2 separate regions of the Homo sapiens genome follow, and region 2 is linked to region 1. Evidence: promoter capture Hi-C in 16 types of primary human blood cells and fetal thymus (Javierre and others, 2016). All regions are on one chromosome and are shown on one strand. The core of a region is centred on a gene start or on the middle of the fragment in contact, and the rest is flanking DNA. Distances in the headings are between cores, read along the strand shown. Region 1 holds the start of HSPA13 (heat shock protein family A (Hsp70) member 13). Region 2 holds the start of C21orf91 (chromosome 21 open reading frame 91).

What was found. Contacts are between HindIII fragments. The CHiCAGO score rates a contact against its expected background, and 5 or more counts as called.
Region 2: a contact is called between the fragment with the promoter of C21orf91 here and the fragment with the promoter of HSPA13 in region 1, in 4 of 17 cell types (M0 macrophages, total B cells, total CD8 T cells and 1 more). The highest score is 8.2, in M0 macrophages.

The regions. Positions count from the first base shown.
Region 1 is chr21:14,378,968-14,386,502 of GRCh38, reverse strand. It overlaps HSPA13 (heat shock protein family A (Hsp70) member 13), which reads left to right and starts at 3,357. Exons shown (of 5, transcript NM_006948.5): 1 at 3,357-3,408; 2 at 4,960-5,300. The coding sequence starts at 3,384. It overlaps LOC105369304 (a long non-coding RNA gene), which reads right to left and starts at 3,737. Exons shown (of 2, transcript XR_007067924.1): 1 at 1-3,737. RefSeq lists enhancers at 2,821-2,950, 3,341-3,650. The HindIII fragment of the contact is 7,322 bases long and covers 1-4,260 here.
Region 2 is chr21:17,815,041-17,822,575 of GRCh38, reverse strand. It overlaps C21orf91 (chromosome 21 open reading frame 91), which reads left to right and starts at 3,220. Exons shown (of 5, transcript NM_001100420.2): 1 at 3,220-3,273; 2 at 4,251-4,384. The coding sequence starts at 4,258. All of the region lies in intron 2 of LOC124900465 (a long non-coding RNA gene), which reads right to left. RefSeq lists an enhancer at 2,526-2,575 and a silencer at 2,826-3,605. The HindIII fragment of the contact is 2,618 bases long and covers 1,156-3,773 here.

The sequences.
Region 1 (7,535 bases), core at 2,108-4,607:
CTACTTGTAGTTATTTAATTAAACATTTTATCTATTTATATTTATTTTGATGTTAAGGTATAATATCCCTTTTTACATTCAAAGTTATAAATAGCCAACTGCCCTGTTACATTTGTTGAATAATATAGCTTTCATTTATTTTGAAGAGATTGCCACTTTCTTCTTAGGTCTGTTTTATTTTTATTTCTTTTATTTAGTTTTTTGCAATAGGGTTCTTGCTATGCTGCCTAGGCTGGATTCAAAATCCTGGGCTCAGGTGTTCCTTCCACCTCAGTCTCCCGAGTAGCTGGGGCTACAAGCATGTGCTGCTGCTGAGCCTAAAGTCCATTTTCTGTTTCCTCTGTAGTATTAAGTTTGTAGTTTTGTCACTTAACATGCGCAAGGACTATATACCCATTAAATTCTTATCTTAAATATTCCAAATAAATTTTATTGTCATTTTATCAAGTCATAAAATATCCTGCTGGCTTTTTATTTGATATTTCACTGAATTCAAAGATATAAAAAGAACTGGCACCCTTAAAATAATAACCCCCTGGCATACAAATTATGGTCTCCAGATACCACACTTTCTTAATAAAAGAAAGCAGGGTTCCTTAGACATACAGTTAATTATAAGTATGAAACAAAACAAAACAAACAAAAAAAAATAAGAGGATTCTAGATATCTTTTTAGAGCAGGTAGCAAGGCAGTAAGTAAAGCGATTGTGTCAAAAGCATTCATGAGTGAATTTTGAAGAGGCTGCCATCGGCCAAAATTAAAGCAATCTAAGTATCAAGAAGGATAATAATTGCAATGGATTGTAACATAAAACACCAAACAATAACTATAAAAACAACGAATTAATTGGTCACTATTGGAGAATGATAACAATGATTACTTCCCAACCCCAGTGCCTTGACTTTTCTGTTCTTTATAACATTACTGGAATAGTCTCACCAGCATTCTTATCTAAGTATTTCATTGTTCCTCTGATTGTAAACAAACAAGAAGGGATAAGTGGTATCAGTTACTACCCCATTTAGTTGATTTAGATAATGAGATGCGAGACTTTTGAACTGATGAAGTATAGATGAACTTTCTGGACTTTGAGTTCATGCTATAATGGGATGGGACTTTGGTGGATGTTGCATTTTGTATGTGGACAGATGTGAATCTGAGGGGCCACAGAACCATTTTAGTAGGCATAATAAAGGCCTCCTCAAACTGTTAGAACTCGTGAATAGTTACCTTACATGGCAAAACGGACTTTGCAGATATGATAAGTTTACAGGGTTTGAAATGGAGATTACGTTGAGTTGTCCAGATAGGTCCAATGTAAACACATGACATCTAAAATTTGGAAGAGCGATGCAAAAAAATGTCCTCTGTAAAGGACCTGACCCGCTGTTGCTGGCTTTGAAGATGGAGAAAGAGGGTCTCTGAGCTAAGATATGTGTATGGCCTCAGAAACTGGAAACAGCTCTCAGGTTACAGCCAGCAAGAAAATGAAGACCTGAACCCTACAACTGCAAGAAAATGAATTCTGCCAATAACTCAAATTAGCAGGAAACTGATTCTCCCCTAGAACATCCAGAAAGGAATGCAGCTTTGCTAATAACTTGCTTTTAGTTAAGTGAGACCCATACCAAATTTCTGATATACCGAACTGTAAAAATAATAGATTTGAGTTGGTTTAAGACACTAAATTTGTGGTAATTTGTTAAGGCAGAAATAGAAAATGAATACAACCTATTTAGTTCAATCTTAATTCTAAAGGCCTTCTACTCTGAGATCACATAATCTTTACCTGCTTCTTGAACAAATCAGGATCTTGTTAGCAAGGAGAAAGGAGTGAGTGGCAGGGAGAATCCCAATGACCAGTGCTTGTCACAGACGGCTAATCTTAATCTGGTTTAAGTCTCTAGTTCTGTCTCTCAGAATTCTACCTCATGCTTTATGATCCACCACTTTCTAATCTATGGAATAGATGATCTCTTGCTTCTGTGCTCTTGGTAATTGAGTTCCGTCTGCCTGGAACACCTCCAGCCCACTGCCCATTACAAGTAATACTTAAGAACTAAGTGCTTGAATTCTTCACTCCTTATAAGAATCTTATTGAACAGCACTCACTATAGACACACACTTTTTATATTTCGCATTATGAAATACTTAAAAATGCGCAAAAGTAGAGAGAACATTACAATGGATCCCTATCAACCAGAATTCAGCTTCCATAATCAAAATTCACATTGATAAGTCAGAAATAACCAGCAATGTATTCCCACAGCAGGCTGACGTGTTGTCAACAGGGATGGTTTGATTTATATCTAAGCTGAGAAAATGGATTCAATTCTCCAGGATCTTAGTTATCGTGAACTCTAACAGCAAAAATGACAAAACCACTCTCAGAGGAGTCATTAAGTGCTACCAGTGACCAAGATGCGAGAAAAATCCTACTTCAGACTAGAACCTGAACAGCATGTCACAAGCGTCCTAAAATGGCTGTCACGTTACAGGACTTGCCCATAAGGTCAATTTTGGCCACTTAAGACTTACTTGAAGAGAGAGCTAAGGGTTTTCTTTTTAATTTCGTTTTTGTTTTTGTTTTTAATGGCCCACGTCAGTGCTAGCAATAGAGAAAATGTGTCCCTGATCCCTTGGATAAATCGAATTGACTGAAGAATGCTTGAATTCATTTATCCCAAAACAAAGGCAGACGGCTGAGGGTCACTGGAGTTTCAGGGCTGCTCCCAGCGTTGGAGCACGGACGCCAGAGCCGACTTCCCTCAGGCCCCGCACTGCGGCAGGGACCCTTCTACGGAGGATGGCTGGGGCTCCGGGAGGCTATAGGAACGCCATCTAGAAGCTAGATCTCAGGCAAACGAACGCGCTTTAAAAGGAATTAAAACGAAAGAACACAAACTCGAATCCTGGACCTGATTAGGGGCACGACCAAAGAAAGAAATAACTAACGGTTCTCACCCTCCCTTTCATTCCCTCCCGCGGAAAGAGAAAGGCTGGAACTCCGCTTCCCAGAATGCAAAGCGCGGGGCGGGGCTAAAGAGATAGCCTGTTTTCCCTCAAGTAGGATCGCGGGACCACAGGTTTGATTATAAACGCCAGTCTCTCGCCACGGCGCTCCTCCCCCTCAGTCTCACTGGTCCTGCCGGCCGTTGCGTGGAAGGGGGACTCAGTCGTCACTGGCAGCGGTTGAATGGAGGCTCTTTGCCCCGCGCCCTCACGGTAGATGAAGTCCTTGCTTTGGTCAGAGCGATAGCTTCTCCGATTGCCTCAGAGCAAGCGGACTACATTTCCCAGGGGGCTGCGGGACTGCCGGGAGGAGTGGGGGCGGTGCCTCACGTCTGGTACAGTCATCACAAGCCTGTTCGGCGGGACTGTGATGGCCAGAGAGATGACGATCTTAGGTGGGTTCCCGGGGGTCCTTGTTGCTCTTGCGGGCGTAGAGGCGATCTGAGGATGCCAGAGTGGGCAGGGGTGGTTGACTCACCTCCTGGATCTAGCTGGAGCAGCGGAAGGGGAGTCAGAAAGGTGACTTAGAGACGGTTTTCGGCTGTTCGGAGTGGATGGGGGCGGGGACGCCTCTAGGAGGGCCCCGGCCCCTGCAGGCCAAGGTAGGATAGACGGCGACCAGCTGTGTCCATCCCAGGGACATCAGGCTTAGGGAGGCGTTCCTTTCAACAGCACCTAGGTTTTTGAATTGCCTGTTGAATTGGGGCAAGCTATGGAAGGCTGCGAGAACGTGCACCTCCAGGACCCCTTTGTGGAGGAAGGGGGAGGAGCTACATCCGGATCTGTCGGCTCAGGGATGCTGAATTTGGAGGCTTTTTCCATCACATCGGGTTTGGAATTACCTATCCCCCACCCACACACACACCCACCCCGCGTCTCCAAGGTGATGAAATGCTTCTGAAATGTTGCCTGTAGCTGGAAGTGGAAAGTGGGATTCGCACTTGGTTTTATTTCTTTGAGTTATGTGTTGATGAGGATGAGCTAACAATTAGTAACACAGAGCCCTGAAAATTCATGTTTTGGGTCATATGTAATATGAGCGGACACAGGTGTATAACACAGCCTCCTGATACCAAATACGAGATTCATTAAAAACTAAAGGGGCATCTTTCTTCGCTTATGTTTACAATCTGCGTGGCATTTGTTCCTACTCTTTTTTCTTTTTTTTTTAAATTAGTATTTGTTGGGCATCTGCTATTCCTGGTCTGGGGGATACAACAGTGAACGAAACTTGTCTTCAAGAAGCTTTCATAGATGTTGCCGTCAGGGTTGCCCACCTTTATGCTTCTTCTCCCCTAAATATTACCACTGCAAGAAGGAAGTCCCTAGTTCATACTTAAATACATAAAAAGTTAACTGTGTTCTGTTTTGAAGTGACAGTTTCATATCTAAGGAACTTTCAAAATCATTTTATCCCATTTATTCATTTCATCCTTTTGAAAGGGAAAAGGAGGTGAGATACGAGGAGAGAATTTTAGACTTATAAAATAATAAAGTTTTTCTTGTGAGAATTTTAATAATGGAGCTTTTAAAAAAAGATAATCGAAGCTTTTTATAAAGCTGTAAAATCTAAATATCAATTGATCAAGAATATTAGATTATATCTGGCTTTTGCTCCAGATAAATGTTGTTTCTTGTCAGCATCTGCACAAATATTATTGAAATATTTTTACATTTTATTACATTTATTAGAGAATGACACAAACATACAGTTATAGGGTTTTTTGTTGTTTGTGTTTACTTCATTTTAAATTTTATTATAACCAGTTTACATTTTGAAAAACTTGCTGTCTGAGAGGAGTGCTATCAGCAGTCCTATAAAAAATTTTGAAATTTGTCTTTTTTAGCCTTGTTTCAACGAGTGATATTAAAGGGACTTTGCTACAGTAATTTAGTACATTGTACTAGTTTGATAAAATACATCTTTTAATTTTCCTTTATTTCAGGATCGGCTGTTTTGACTCTCCTGTTGGCCGGCTATTTGGCACAACAGTATTTACCATTGCCTACTCCTAAAGTGATTGGTATTGATCTTGGCACCACCTATTGTTCTGTTGGGGTGTTTTTTCCTGGCACAGGAAAAGTAAAGGTGATTCCAGATGAAAATGGGCATATCAGCATACCCAGCATGGTGTCTTTTACTGACAATGATGTATATGTGGGATATGAAAGCGTAGAGCTGGCAGATTCAAATCCTCAAAACACAATATATGATGCCAAAAGATTCATAGGCAAGATTTTTACCGCAGAAGAGTTGGAGGCTGAAATTGGCAGATACCCATTTAAGGTAAGTGATTAATCTAAAATCTATATTAATTTTAGTGTACTCTTTTAGTTAATGCTTTGGCTTCATGTCACAAAACATTCTATCTCGTCTAGTTTTATCTATTAATACATGAAAGTTCTGTTATCTCACATAACCAGAAATTCCACAGCAGCTATAGGATCAGTTAATCACTGACTCCATAATGCTAACAGGTACTTAAGGCCTTGCCATTTTCTTGCTGTCCCATCCTCAGCATGTCTTGCTTAGCTCTTTCAAGGTAGCAGGAAGGTTGATGAAGCCCTGTGTACCATAGATAGATATTCTGTGTGTGTATGTGTACATATTTATATACATATAAAGAGAACATACCAGGTGTGCTATTTTTTGCTATTTAATATGTCATGGATAATTAATAGGATCATGTCATTATCTTTAATGATTTTGTGGAATGACTATTCCATTATTAATTAGACTAGTCTCTATCAGTGTACTTTTTTGTGGTTTTTCACTAATGTTGGAGATTCCGGTAATATCCTTACTTATCTTTGTACACTTCTCTGAAAGTTTCCTAACTTGAATGCTAGAAGTCTAATTGATAGGTCAAATGTGTACGTTTTTAAGGCTTTTGATTTATTTTTCTGGTTTGCTCACCAGAAAGGTTATATGCTCTTAACCATAATTTTTTAGAGTGGCTGTATCTTCGCTAGTTATTTTTTTTAATCTTTAACAGTCAGATAAGTGAAAAATAGTATCCTGTATTAATTTTTATTTATTTTGATTTTTTTTAGTGAGATCAGAATTTTTAGAATTTTATTGATATTTTAATTTTCTTTTATGGTCCATTTTTCTTTGTCCTTTTTTGTTTTGGTGTGTTTTTCTTTTCCTTAGTGAGCTATAAAAGACCTTCATTATATGTTTTTGTTATCTTTTCCTTACCTTTTTTTTTTCACTGATGTTTTTGAGCTGGATGTCAAAGTTTTAAATTTTTGATTTTAGACTCTTATCATGTTTACTGTAGCCTATCCCATCCTATCCACTGCTACTTTTTTTTCCCTCTTAATACGTTTATGTATTTGTTGGTTTGGATTTCGCTGCTTTTTTTTTCTTTTAAACATTTAAAGCTTTTTTCCATGTGGAGTTTTTCTTGGAAGTTATGAAGTGAAATTCTAAATGAAGTGAAATTCTAAATGAATTAGTTTTTGTTTTTTTTTTTGAGACAGTCTCATTCTGTCTCTCAGGCTGGAATGCAATGGCATGATCTTGGCTCACTGCAACCTCTGCCTCCCAGGTTCAAGTGATTCTCCTCCCTCAGCCTCCCAAGCTGGCATTACAGGCGTGTGCCACCACGCCTGGCTAATTTTTGTATTTTTAGTAGAGACGGGATTTCACCATGCCGGCCATTATTTAGTTTCAAAATAGACAGTTGTATCAGTGCTGCTTATTGAATAAACCTAGCCATAAAAATGTTCAAATTTTTCATCCGTTTTCAAAGAAAAAAAAATTGCTCCCTGCATTTCTTAGGTTTATTACTTTGTTGTTTTTTGACTTCTTTTTTGGGATTCTTTACTGACTTACAATCTTTAATGAAAAAATCATCTAAAGCTATATATGCCCTCTGAATTACAGCTTTGGGTACGTTACTTATTGACCCAAAAACTACTTAATGTTTCTAAGTGATCTGATTTTTTTGTTGTTGTTTTTGTTTCATGTGGGCACTGATGGTTCTGGTATATTTGTATCTTAGTTTAATATTGTCCATGTAGCTTCTTTATGTTTTCCCCAGACTAGTGAAGTACTTTTTGGAAGGTCAGTTTTTCATGATGGAAACCTAACTATGAGGCCTGAAGTGAGAAAACATTCTTATAATTTCTTAGATTAATTCTCTTTTTTATTTATATTAATAGAATCTTGGTAAAACTAGGATAGTATTTTTTAGAGTTAAAATAGTTTTTTAAATGTACACCCACATTATCGGGGACAATGAGCTAATGCACAATACATGTTTTCATGGGAAACAAGAATGTAAATGAGATTTGATTCTTGGATAAGTACATAATGATGTACTAAAATTATTCTTGTTAATATGTACTAGAAAATTCTTTCAGCTATCCATTACTCTTAGAAACAAGAAATTTGGGAAAAAAAGGGAAAAGATTCTGAGTTACATACTTGAATGAGCAACTTTTATTTCTTACATTTCATCATTTATTCTTTCTTTATTCAGCAAAAATATATTGAGAATCTTTTGTGTTCTAG
Region 2 (7,535 bases), core at 1,971-4,470, 3.4 Mb before region 1:
ATCCATATTACAAAATGATAGTGTAGACCCTCACAAGGTTTACAAACAAGTCTCTAAAGAAGCAAGCTGATCAGCCACTAGAGTAACATCTTCCCAAAATAAATCTCAACCTTCTTTAAAAATTTCGACATTCAATCTTTGTAATGCTGGCATAACTAACACAAGTTTAATGGCTTGAAACAACACCCATTTATTATCTCACAGTTCTGTAGGTAAAAATTCCAGTACAGCATGATTCAGTTGACTCCTCTATTTAGAATCTCATAAGGCTGAAATCAAAGTGTTGGAAGATTGTTCAAATGAGCTTCTCAATCTATGCAGGCTGTTGGCTGAATTCTGTTCCTTGCAGTTTAAAGACTGTAGCTCCCATTTCCTTGCTGGCTACCAGCTGGAGACCAGTGTTTGCTCCTAGAGCAATGGTGGGTCAAGTCCCTCTCATGCTTCTAATCACTTTGACTTTCTCTTTGCTACATTTCTCTGAGCTTACTTGGAGAAAGATCTCTGGTTATAAGGGTTCATGTGATTAGATTGGGCTCAGCGCAATAATCCAGGAAAACCTATTTTAAAGTTTATAACCTTAATTATATCTACAAAGTCTCTTTTGCTATGTTACATACATATTCAAAATATCCAAGAATTAGCGTGTGGACATCTTTTTCTCTTTTTTTTTTTTTTTGAGACAGAGTCTTACTCTGTCACCCAGGCTGGAGTGAAGTGGCACAATCTCAGCTCACACAACATCCACCTCTAGGACTCAAGCCAGTCTCCCACCTCAGCCTTCTGAGTAGATGGGACTACAGGCATGCACCACCCTGCCTGGCTAATTTTTGTGGGGTTTTTTGGTAGAGATGGGGTTTCACGATGTTGCCCAGGCTGGTCTCGAACACCTAGACACAAACGATCAGCCCACCACAGCCTCCCAAAGTGCTAAGATTACAGGTATGAGCCCCCATGCCCCACTGATCCCCAGCGTTGGAGGTGAAGCTTGGTTGGGGAGTGGAGAGCAAGGGGTTGGAGCTTAGTTATGGATCCCTGATGAATGGCTTGGTGCCATTCTCTAGGGTGTGAATCAATTCCCACTCTTAATTCCCAGTGGAACTCGTTTTTAAATAAAATAAAATAAAAAATAAAAAATAAATAAAGAGAGAGCAAGCTTGGAATTTCCTCCCCTCTCTCTCTTGCTCACTCTCAGGCCACATGATCTCTGCACATACTGGCTCTCCTTTGCCTCCTATCATGAATGGAATCAGCCTGAGGCCATCACCAGAAACAGATGCTGGCACCATGCTTCTTGTACAGCCTCCAGAACCATGAGCCAAATAAACCTGTTTTCTATATAAATTATCCAGCCTTGGGTATTCCTTTATAGGAACACAAACTGACTAAGACGAGCAGTGAAAAGAAACCACTGTTACAAAATACCATCGTGAATCTCAAAAACATGCTGCATGACAATAGCCAATCACAAATGAACACACACTGCTTAATTCTATGTATATGAATTCCTATAACAGACAAAACTAAAACACTTCGTCATATAAATTAGATCCCATGTTGAAGGAGCTTGACCAGAAAGGAACAGAAAGAAATGTCGGGGCTGTGGAAATGTTCTGTATCCTCACTGGGGTGGTGGTTACTCAAGTGTATGTATTTGCCAAAACTCATCAAATAATGCTTTTAAAATGGAAGCATTTTATTTCTGTAAATTATTCCTTGATTTTTTTTAAAAAGCCAACAACAAGAGAGAAGAGTTTTAAGAATAGCAAGTAAACAATGTGAAATGCCATAGGAAGGAAGACAATTCTGAGAAGTGAAAATAACTTGTTTCAATTTTTAAATTTTAGTGATTTTAGAACACTTTTATTGAATCACTTTAAAAGAGTCCTTTTTAAAAGAATGCTTTTTATTGAAAAGATGGGTAGAATCCAACATGCAAGGTATCTTAGTCGTAGTTACCTAGAATGAGAAATTCGAAGAGAAAAAGCACAGGCTTTTCATTTCAATTAGTGCATCTCAAACTTCGATGAACATAGGAATCTCCTGGCGGTCTTGTTAAAGTGCAAGTATTGATTTAGGAAATCTCGAGTGGGGCCTGAGATTCTACATTTCTAACAGGAAACCAAGTAATGTCAATGTTGTTTGTTCATCTACTACAATTTAGGTGGCAAGGACACAGATCGCTCCTGCGAGGCACAAATGCCATAACTGGAGTGCTAATTTGGCCCAGAAGTTTCCAAGATCTAGACAGTCCATTCCTAACCATCAGTTCAAGAATGCCTACATGTAGATTGACAGGCTAGCCCTCTTTCTATGTGAGTGCAACCAGAACACATACATATGATGCTGTAGAAAATAACATTGATCTTAGGTCAGTAGCCTTCGGTTCAAGTCCCAGCCTTTTTCTAACCAACTGTGATAACCTGGGTCAATTACTCGTAGGCTGCAACATGAGAGAACAGTTCCTGTTTCTCCTCTGTAGGTTACTGTGAGGACTACAATGGAAAATGTAAGTGAAAGTACTGCAAGAACCATACCCTAAAAAAAACAGAATAGCTTAAACAAAAGTCAAGCAAAGAATTTGAGAACCAAGCAGGACCTAAAAATAAGAGGTGGGGCTTCGGGATTTTTCCCGTGGGCGTTGAGGGATGTACCATATTGGGGGCAGGGGCGCCCCACAACAAATAATGTATTTGAAAAGATTCTGTATTTGAAATTATGCCTCTATCATGACACCTGAATATGAACTTTTCCTTCGTTAGATACTTCAACTGGCACTTAACTATAAGTTCAGTGACAGTATTCTGCTTCTTTCTCCTGAAGTCAAAGTGCCACCCACGCACCTCTCCCGTTCTGCCATCCACCCGCGGCTTTCCTACCCCCGCCGCCTGCGGCCCCCGCCCCGGGGCAGTAGTTTGCACTAGGCTGAAGGGAGAGGTGGAACGGATTCGTCTATCTACGCACCTCGAGGAGGGGTGTGTGAGGAGCTACGTTCCAGAGAACGGTAAGAAACTCCGGCCAGGAAACACGGGATCACAGGAGAACTCGAGGCGAAGGTGCGGCGTCGGTGCAGGAGCGGAGGGGCGGACCCACAGCAGCCCGGCGAGCGCGCAGGTGTGCCCGCGGCCGCGCCACCCTCCCCGCAGCCTTTACGGGATGGAGCCGGCGGGAGAGGGCGGGGCCAGGCGCGCGGCGGCCGCCTCTGCTGCGGCCGGAAACAATAGTGGAGGAACCCGAGCCGCACGGAACGGCGGTGGTGGCCCGCGGAGCCGGACGGTAAAGACCCCGCAGCCCTGCTCCCATCCCACCTGAGCCCCGACCCCCAGTCCCATCGTTCCGCCTCCTTCGAGTTCCGAGCCCCGTGGCCCCTCGCGCTGCTGCGCGCCAGGCGCCCCGACGGACAGACCGACGGAAAGACGGACTTGGGTCCGCGACTCCCTGGGGGCGGCCGCGCGCCCCCAACGCCGAAGGCCGGGCCAGGACCCGGCTCCCCGAGACGCTGAGGCTGGGCGGACCGGCCGCCGTGGCCCTCGGACGCTTTCTTCCCTCTGGGAGGAATCCCGGAGCGATGGGACGAGGCTCTCCCGCCCGCCGGGCTCCAGGATGCCGCGGCTCTCCCAGCTCCGGCTTGGGCCCCTCCGGCGGTGCCCGGCCGGTACCGTGAAGCCGCCGCTCGGCCTTCGGTGTAGTTGCCCCGGACACGGCGGGACGCCCTCCCCGGGTATTCGGTACCCACGTGCATTTTGCTGCCGCCGATCTCCGTTCGATGCGAAGCTTCGCAACTCCGAGTTCGCGAGGCGCATCTGAGGTTCCCCCAATGAAGTTAGCAAAGCAGTGTCCCGTGCAGGTCGTTTTTCCTGTTTCTCACAGCGTTAACTAGGTTGACAGAACCTGGTAGCTGAAAAGGCCTCGCTGCTAAGCCCTCTGATTATTCGAGGTTGGGGGACGAAGGAGGAGGACTAGAATGCCGGCAAATCTCTTTCCTTCAGGTGCCACTAACCCAATCAACTATAGGACAAAAAAGACACGGACATAGTGTCACCTATGGCCTGGCTTTAAGTTTTACTAGCTTTGTGTCTTTCCACAGGAAAAGTGCAATGTTGGAGTGCAAGTATGGCGATGCTTGTTTGATGGAGCTTTTGCTTTAAATGAGCTGAACAGCATCCTTATTTCCTAGAAGTTCCCAGTAAAGGGAACTACCCCAAAGGCAGGTTCATGAAATTGTGTAACTTTCCTTTTCTGTTTCTTAATAGGGGCACTATGAACGAAGAGGAGCAGTTTGTAAACATTGATTTGAATGATGACAACATTTGCAGTGTTTGTAAACTGGGAACAGACAAAGAAACACTCTCCTTCTGCCACATTTGTTTTGAGCTAAATATTGAGGGTAAGGACACAGTATAGTTTTGATCTTATGGAATGAATTTAACACAGCTGCTTTGTACTGATTGTAAGGTAAAACTAAAATGTCTTCAATGATTGGAAATTGTGCTAAGTATGAATAGTGTAGAGATTTGTTAAAGATAAGGTTTCTGGAAATGAAGGTGCAGTTAACAGAGTTACGAATTTAAGAGAAATCTTTTTTTTTTAAAGACCCCTGCAACAACCCCATTTTTCCTAATACAGAAATAAGTATGAGTGTTGACTGGGAAACGTGTTTTCTGGTTTGAGAGCTTATTGAATTGTCAGATTTTAACAGACCTGTGTGTTTTTTATATTAAGAAGTAACATAACAATTTTTTTATTCTTTCGAGCCTATTATGCAAGTATTTGAGTGAGATGAGCCCGAACTCTTTTCTCACCAGTATGATCTTATTATCTGGAAAAATACTTTAAAATTTTTAGATTAACCTCTTTTCAGTGATCACACACACTGTTGGTAATTTTTAAAACCTGAAAAGGTTTTTAAAATTTTTTTAATAATGTCCCTAAGATATATGAAGAAAAATTCTCCAAATCCAAAAAGAAACCCCAAAAAAAAGCCCTATTGGAAGGATTTATTTGGGTTGGTGCAGTTAGTGTTGTCATATTACAATTGATTTTTGGTTTAGATATTTATGAGTCATACTAAAAAAAACCTTAATATTCCTGCAAAAAAAATTTGGCCTGTAATTTGAGTTTTGAGTTGTAACATATCAGTAGAGAGACTTTATTAAACCTCTAGATTTTGGACAGTTTCAAAATAGTTCTTTCCTTTTTTCTGTATTATATATTTGAAATTTTTCATGATCTTTATTTTCTGTTTACTAAGTATGGGGTATGAAATGTTCTTATTGTTTAAAAAAATATAGTGGGGGATTATATACCTTGAAATTCCTGTTAGGACTTGTTATTCAGAAATTATTATGGTCACCAAACAGTATGTGATGGAAGATTATGGATTTCTTGTGGATTACATAGAATATCTATAACTTCAGCTTTAATAAATGTAGTGATTATAGCTAATTTCAAAAGATGACATAACAGGAACAGTGGTGTGTTCCTACAATCTCAGCTACTCCAGAGGTTAAGGTGAGAGGATTGCTTGAGCCTAGGAGTTCAAGTCCAGTTTGGGCAACATAGCAAGACCCCATCTCTAAAAAATTAAATAAAAATAAAAGGATATCTTAAAAATAAGTTTCTTTTACAGTACTTAAATCATGCTGGGGTGAAAATCCAAATTTATGTTCTTTGGAAATAGAGTTGGCTTGTATATTGTTGATACATTGTAGAATTTTAATTTTAGATGAGTAAAGACATTAGAAATTATCTAGTCCAAACCCTGTATTTTACATTTAAGGAAACAGCCAAAAAGTTGGACTGCCCAGGGTTGCTGTAGTGGTGATGGCAAGCTGTTGTTATGTGCCAGGCACTGTGCTAAACCCCTTATGTGGATTATCTTATTTAACTCAAGATAGCTTTGGAATGACTACTGTCATTTTCTATTTTAAATGTGATAGAACTGAACCTTGGCGACCTAAGAAATACAGTTTGAAGTCACACAGCTCATAACTGTTGGTCCTGGACTTTAAAGCCTGGCAGTCTGGTTCTAGTATATGTGATCTTAATACCATTGATCTACTGTCAATAGTTATTTTATAGCAATAGGGCTGATGTTCTAATCCTAATTGGTTATCCTTGCTATTCTCTCAGCCAGCTTTTTCTAACCAGTGTTTGCTGGCAAATCATCATTAATGGAGTTCATGCCATGATCGAATTTTTCCACAGAACCCTAAATTTTCGTAATTGCTTTTCTAGCTTTTTAAAATAAGCCTTTTAACTGGTTCTCAGTCATTATATAGAGAATATACAAATATTACCTTAGGTACCATCTCTTAACATTTCAGCTCTGATAATATCTCAGCATGTAAGCATGGAATAAGTCCTTTGTTTTTGAAATCATAGTTCCCTTCAGTGTAAAAGACAATTCTCAATTTGAATTAGAACTATTTCGTTTAATATTCTATGTATATTCAAGGTTTTATATATTAAAATCCCAATTTAATCTTTGTAAGAAAAATTAGAGTCAAATAATTTCTTCTCTATCTGGTGTCATTTCTCAGCTCTCACAAATACGCATTTTCATTTTCACTACAGTGATCAGCTAGTGTATTACAACTTTTTTGTTTAAGATTTTTGTAGGCCGGCACAGTAGCTCATGCCTGTAATCCCAACATTTTGGGAGGCCAAGGCAGGCGGATCACCTGAGGTTGGGAGTTCGGTACCAGCCTGACCAACATGGAGAAACCCCGTCTCTACTAAAAATACAAAATTAACCAGGCATGGTGGCACATGCCTGTAATCTCAGCTACTCAGGAGGCTGAGGCAAGAGAATCGCTTGAACCCAGGAGGTGGAGGTTGCAGTGAGCTGAGATTGTGCCATCGCACTCCATCCTGGGCATCAAGAGCAAAACTCTGTCTCAAAAAAAAAAAAATTATTTTAGAAAAGAGGAGGGAAATGAGGATCTTGAATTGCACAAAATTTTAGTTTTTATATCAGTATACGGGTCTTTAGAAATCAGTGGGGGAAAAAAGTCATAATAATAATTACATACTAGAAAAATAACAAGGTATATTTGTTGTCGGTAAATCTTTTAAAATATTTTTGAAGTTTTCTTTCCTCTACCAAGTTCCCAACACAATGCCTGTCAATAGACTAGAATGTAAGAGGGGCTTTTTAAAAATGACATTTAACTTTACTAGTTTAGTGTAAATTTTTTGTAGTTTGGTAGTATTGCAGTTGCCTGATTTCTTAGCTTTATAATTGCTAGCTTTGGTCTAAAGCACTCTTCTCCGAGAAGAGGCTGAGTAAAAATAAATTCTCTTGAGGAATAATAACAGTTAAGCTAGTTTTGAGTCCATACATTTGTAGTAAACAATAATAATATTTTCTACTTTTTGGATTGTTGCTTACATCAAATCAACACTGGTTTCCTAATCAATTAGCCTCTTGTTTAAAAGCTGTGTGCATGCATACGTTTATAAAATGAAGACAAAGGAAGGAAGAAATAACAAAAGACAATCTAATCTTGTTGAACAGATTTTGTACTGTGGGCATG